2 separate regions of the Homo sapiens genome follow, and region 2 is linked to region 1. The links are contacts of gene promoters, found by promoter capture Hi-C in human tissues and cell types (Jung and others, 2019). All regions are on one chromosome and are shown on one strand. The core of a region is centred on a gene start or on the middle of the fragment in contact, and the rest is flanking DNA. Distances in the headings are between cores, read along the strand shown. Region 1 holds the start of TMPRSS4 (transmembrane serine protease 4). Region 2 overlaps IL10RA (interleukin 10 receptor subunit alpha).

Region 1 (3,048 bases), core at 180-2,679:
CCCCTTTCTGATCATCAGCTACAACCGCACTAAGAATTGTTCTTGCCAGAATTTTCAGAAGAGTGTCGTGGGAAGTGCTCAGGTTGGGAATAGGAGACAATCACTCGAGGGGCCCCTGCAGGTCACACCCTTCCCCCTTGGACAGTGGCTTCTCCTTTCCTCTCTTCCCTTCCCTTTCACTTTGGTGGCTGGGCAATTGCTGCCTCTTGGCCAAGGACTGGAGAAGGAAGACCCCTGGGTTCCTCCTCAGACCCAGTTATTATCTCTTCCCCTCCCTGGCCCTCAGCTGTCCTCCTTGAAAGATAGGGTTGATTCTCTTTGCCCCAAGACAGCGAAGACGCTCCAGGTATTCAGAGGAGGAGGAGAGAGGGTGAGGGCATGAAAAGAGACCAAGTAAAAGATGACCACAAACACCCTAGATTGTTTGGAGGCATCTCTGCACTGTTTTCTTTTCCTTCTTTCTTTTTTTTTTTTTTTTTTTTTTTTTTTTTTTGAGACGGAGTTTCACTCTTGTTGCCCAGGTTGGAGTGCAATGGCACAATCTTGGCTCACCACAACCTCCGCCTCCCAAGTTCAAGCGATTCTCCTGCCTCAGCCTCCCAAGTAGCTGGGATTACAGGCACCTGCCACCACGCCTGGCTAATTTTTTGTATTTTTAGTACGGATGGGGTTTCACCATACTGGCCAGGCTGGTCTCAAACTCCTGACCTCGAGAGATCTGTCTGCCTCAGCCTCGCAAAGTGCTGGGACTACAGGCGTGAGCCACTGCACCCAGTCTACACTTTTCTTTAAAAAGAAAAGGAATCAGTTTCCCCAGGGAGTGGCAGAGGGCAACCGTGGCATCAGAACAGCCCCCTGCCTTGGAAAAATAGTGCCAACCTCTAACCAACAGACCTGGAGACATTGGGCAAAAGAACATGCAGGATTCAGGAAAGAATAGTCGGGAAGGACAGCCCTGGCTCTGTGCTCAGCTTCTTAGGTGAGCTGGTCCAAGGACCATGGCAATGGAGGAAGAGAGGAAGGCAGGTGGGTATGAGACGTGTACCGGGCTGGGGTGTGAGGGGATTTGGGTGTGGCCTCTTTTTTTAACCTAGAAGGTGTCACAGAATTCTCAGCTGATGGATGCTCAGGCTGCTTGAAGGGCCTTACATGGGGAGACCCACCCTTCCTGTGTCTTGGGAGCAGAGGGCCCCACACTCACCATGCTGGCTCTGTGATCCTCCCGGTCTCCCTGTAGCCTGGAGCTGAGATTGTCACCCCAAGGCAGCAGGAGGGCCTCCCCACACAGGTCCTGGCTGGCCAGCAGGTCAGAAGTCCCTGGTCAGCACTGGCTGGAGGAGGCCCGAGTGCAGGGCAGGCCTTGGTCCCTCACGCCCAGCATCCTTGTCCGCTGAGCAAGCTGCTGCCTCTCTCTGTGTATTCCAGGAGTGATTGGGGGACTTTGGGCAGCTTGATTAAAACAGCCCTACAAGTGAAGTTGCCAAACTGGAATGATTATGTGTCTTGTAACCTGACACCTATCTTAGGGGCTGGAACAACACCTGAAGTCATTCATGGGACCTTCGGCCTCAGAACAGGTGACACACCTAAGGCGTAACAAAAGCCTTCCCGCCTGAATGACTTCCACCCAACTGGGTGTTGGCTGAGGGTGATGCCAGAAGTTTCCGCCCCCCCTCCCCCTACCTTCTAGGTGCATGACTTCTCACTGTGTGGGTGCTTTGGTTTGGGGTTGTGGGAAGTTGGAGTGGTCTGGGGGTTGGGCGACAGGGTTTGCAGCTCAGTACAAAGAGATCATTGCCAGGTGTGGAGCAATAGGATTGGAAAGTCCACAGAGAAGGAGGGAGTTTCTTCTCTTAGGGAGGTAAGATGTACCCCCTTTCCCTGGATCCCAGAAGTGAAGCTGTCCTGCACAGAGCCAATGTACTAGTGCTTCCTGCCCCTGCCTCAGCAGCCGTTCAATATTCTGAAAATCACTATTGGTGCTCTGGCTAGAGCCCACGTCTCCTCGTCCACGGAGTCATTTCCTTCTTTCTTTCTTTCTTTTTTTCTTTTCTTTTTTTAAGACAGGGTCTCTCTCTGTCCCCCAGGCTGGAGTGCAGGGGCGCAATCTCAGCTCACTGCAACCTCCGCCTCCTAGGTTCAAGCAATTCTCGTGCTCCAGCCTCTCGAGTAGCTGGGACTACAGCCACCTGCCACCACACCCAGCTAAGTTTTGTGTTTTTGTATTTTATTTTATTTTGAGACAGAGTCTCTGTTGCCCAGGCTGGAGTGCAGTGGCGCGATCTTGGCTCACTGCAACCTCCACCTCCCAGGTTCAAGTGATTCTCCTGCCTCAGCCTCCCAAGTAGCTGCTGGGATTACAGGTGTTGTGCGCCACCATGCCTGGCTAATTTGTATTTTTAGTAGAGATGGGGTTTTGCCATGTTGGCCAGGCTGGTCTCAAACACCTGGCTTCAACTGATCCACCTGCCTCAGCCTCCCAAAGTGCTGTGATTATGGCGTGAGCCACCGCACCCAGCCCCACAGGATCATTTCTGATTCACGTTCTGCCACATCCTGATAGCTGGAGCTGCCCCCTGGCCAGGGGATGTGCAAGGTGAAACCTTACAGCCACAGATATTTTGCTGGGAGAGACTTGGATAATTGTCCACATTGTTCCCCCATTCTGTGGGCGACAAAACTAAATTCCAGAGAGGCAAAGTCAATGACCCAAAGTCACATAATGAATTAGTGTCTGGTTCCATATGAATCCAGATCTCCTTCCATTTCTCAGACCTGACCCTCCCAGGAGACCAGCCTGGGTTAGACGTGTGTATTTGTCCTTCTGTTGATAACGTGCTTCTGTGTATCAGCCCTTTAATTCTCCAACAACAACCCCAATATTTTGTTCCCATTTGTCAGCTGAGGAAACTATAGCCTATGGACATGAAGTAGTTTCGGGCAGAGTTGGGGCTGGAACCTGGTTCTCTTACTGGTTCACACTGCCAGGCTTGTGAACAGGCTGAATGGAACACAAGTGTTTGAAAGCCCCAGGTTCATGGTTTGGGA
Region 2 (3,175 bases), core at 569-3,068, 75 kb after region 1:
TAAGCCTCTCTTATGAACTGAATATTTTTGTCTTCCCCAAATTCATGTTGAAGCTGTCACTCCCAATGTGACGGTATTTGGAGGTAAAGCCTCTGGGAGGTAATTGGTTTAGATGAGGTCATGAGGATGGGGCCTCCATGATGGGATTAGTGCCCTTGTAAGAAAGTGGAAGAGAGACCAGAGTTCTTTATCTCCACCGTGTAAGGCCACAGCAAGAAGGAGGCCGTCTCCAAGCCAGGAAGAGAGCCCTCCCAGGGAACTCACTCAGCTGGCACCTTGATCCTGCACTTCCCCACCTCCAGAACTGTGAGAGATAAATGTCTGTTGTTTAAGCCACCCAGTCCATGGTGTTTTGTTATAGTAGCCCAGCCTAAGACAGCCTCCTACCCTGTTTCTCTGCCTCCTGCCTCATCCTTCATGTGGAATACTAGTTTCTTTCACATCACTTATCACTGATTGTAGTAATACGTTTGTTGTGTTTATTTGCTTGGTGTTTATCTTCATAACCAGATGACAGGCTCCATGAAGCCACACTTGTTTGGTTCACCACTCTGTACCCAGGGCTGCACACCATGTCCAACACATAACAAGTGCTTCGTAATGTTTTTTGACAAAATGAAATGCTGACTACAATAAAAGTCTCCAGCCAGGTCTCTTTGCCTCCTGCCCCATCCTTTCTGATTCATGTCTGATGCTTTGGATAGAGCCATATTCTTAAAACACAAGTTTTATCCTACCCAGTCCTTCTTCGGCAGAGTGTTTATTGGGTCCCACAACCCTTTTTGGAGGTTTATGGGAAATTAAGTGAAGTTAGGATCGAGATGATAGTGGGAAAATGTGCTGTGTGTCATTAATAACAATGCATTTAATTTTAAATTGGGGTTTACTTCAAACCCAAAACTGTGGGTTTGCTTTTTTAACCCATGAGCACAACAGGAAATGAATGAGTCAAGCTTCCTAGTATCTAGGGTCCTCTAGGTTGAGGCTTGATCAAATCAGCCCTGACTGCCCAGACCTGCCACTTAGGCAGCAGACCTGTCAGTGGTCCCAGGTGGTCACAGCCTACAGCTTCCCTTGCTGTGCTGTTCCCATGTGGGGCTCAGAGACCTTCCACCCAGCAGAGCAGCATGGGCTCTGGGGGTGGGACCCAGCTTCCTAGGGACTGTGTGTCTTCTGTGAAAGTGTGAACACTGAGGCCGGGGGATGAATATATGCTGGGTAGACAAGGCACACCCTGACTATAGCTATTTACAAAGTTGGGAAAACACAGTTTATTGAATTTCCTCTTCACTCAATGGTGGCCCATTTACCCCCTCTCTGTACTAAGAGGAAGTTCCATTAGCTCACACAAAGACAGCATTACGCATTCCTCAGCTTGGAAAAGCCCTTGAAGGAGATTGCTCAGTTGAAGAACAGCTGGGGCCTTCTGTTGGGGGCTGTAATCCAAATTCCCAAGAAATCTGCAAGTGTCTCATCAGCCCCGGCTGCTTGGAAGGACTCGCTCAGTTTCTCCCAAGGGCCTGTCTGTGGTGAGTGGTTACAGAGCAGCCTCAAAGCAGAGATGAACCAGCGCAAACTCCTACTCATTCCACAGAAACGGAGCAGGCAGGGCCTGCACCAAGGGCTGTGTCTTCTGACTTCCTTCTGTCCTGCAAGCTGCTCTTTGATCTGTCGTATCCAACCAAACTGGCTGCAGTTCCTTGAATGTAATTCCTTTTACTCTCTGAATCTTTATATTTAGACCTTAGGGGCCTTTTCCATGGGGAATAAGCCATCGCTAACACCTCATTTCCAGGAGAAAGTGACCAACACTACTTTTCTTTCCAATATTGACAAGGAGGGCTCTAGGGCAAAAGCCTGAGCAGGTCTGAAATGGCGTGATATTAGTCAAGTTCTCTGAAGATGATAGGATCAGCACTTCCTCAGAACTAGTTATTTTCTCAGAATGAACTGGGTGAGGCAAGATTGGAGATGACACAGGGGAAAAGAGGTGAGGTGTCCCCAGTCACCTTCTAGGGGATTCAGGTAGGACGAAGAGAAAAGCACACCCAGGAAGCTCAGGCCGCGGGCCTGGGTTTGTTCTACCCACTGGGCTGAGCATGGGGAGAAATTCAAACCCACATGGGGTTTTTCATGGAGGGAGCAGGCTGCTTCTAGAATAGAGTGCAGATGGCTTCCGCACTTAGGAGAACCACCACTGGGACATGCCTCCTGGGCAAGGGGAGCCAGGGACAGGGCTCTGGGAACAGAGCTCCAGGGAGGCCCAGTTTGCTGTCTTCCTGGAAAGGAGGGGTTTCCAGGTTCTTCTCTCCACATTGTCAGAACTCACATCCAAAACGTTGCATTGTGCTTTCCACCTCTTCCTTTTCTGTCTTCTGAAAGAGTCCCGCTGCACACTCCTTATCGCTTTCATTTTCACTTGTTTCCAAGAAAAGCTGTCCATTTTTCTTTACAGACTCAACAGCCAATGACAGCTAGTGGCACATAGTACCACATGCCTGGCACCATGTTAAACTTTTTATGTGCAATTTCATTTACACCTCACAACATCCTCATGGGGAGTTGTCAACTCCACGTGACAGGTGGGGAAATTAAAACTTGGAGAGGATAAGTAATGGGCCCAAGGTCACAATACAGGTAGCATGAGGACTCCCTGGGTCTGTCAGATTTAAGCCTGAGTCCTCAGCCCTGTTTCCTTAAAGTGACATCACACATCCCACACATTATTACCCTCCTCATTATCAACAACCGAGTCCTCCATGAGCCAATGTGCCATCAGCAATCTGACTAGTTTCACACGATTCCTGTGGTCTTGACAATTTATTGGAATAAAAAACATGTATCACTTATTGACAGAGCTTTGTGTTCAAGGCACATTCATACCCATTTCCTCAGCAGAACCTCACATCCCTACGAATTAGACAAGTCAGTCATTATTCTGCAGATGAGGAAACTGAGGCTCCAAGAGGATAAGTGACTTCTCCAAGGTCATACCACTGGAAACAGCAAAGTCAGAGCTAGAATTTCGGGGCTCCTGAGATATCCAGAATTCTTTCACTGTGCAATGCTGCCTCTCCAATAAATAAATGAACAAAATAAATAAATAAAGCTTTCAAGGGAACCCTGAGGAATCCTCCCTCAAGCCTGCCTCCAGAGGGAGTTCAGTTACCAGACT

Evidence for each region. Contacts are between HindIII fragments. The study calls those that stand out against the background at their distance.
Region 2: a contact is called between a fragment that was not itself captured here and the fragment with the promoter of TMPRSS4 in region 1, in 2 of the 25 tissues and cell types used here (H1 embryonic stem cells and mesenchymal stem cells).

What each region holds. Positions count from the first base shown.
Region 1 is chr11:118,075,459-118,078,506 of GRCh38, reverse strand. TMPRSS4 (transmembrane serine protease 4) reads right to left here and starts at 1,429. Exons shown (of 13, transcript NM_019894.4): 1 at 1,202-1,429. The coding sequence starts at 1,204. All of the region lies in intron 1 of SMIM35 (small integral membrane protein 35), which reads left to right. RefSeq lists an enhancer at 979-1,574. The HindIII fragment of the contact is 5,819 bases long and covers 1-3,048 here.
Region 2 is chr11:118,001,110-118,004,284 of GRCh38, reverse strand. IL10RA (interleukin 10 receptor subunit alpha) reads right to left here. Exons shown (of 7, transcript NM_001558.4): 7 at 2,802-3,175. It overlaps SMIM35 (small integral membrane protein 35), which reads left to right. Exons shown (of 5, transcript NM_001394165.1): 5 at 1-651. Among named protein-coding and RNA genes, the nearest start is that of IL10RA, 16 kb to the right of the region's middle. The HindIII fragment of the contact is 4,642 bases long and covers 1-3,175 here.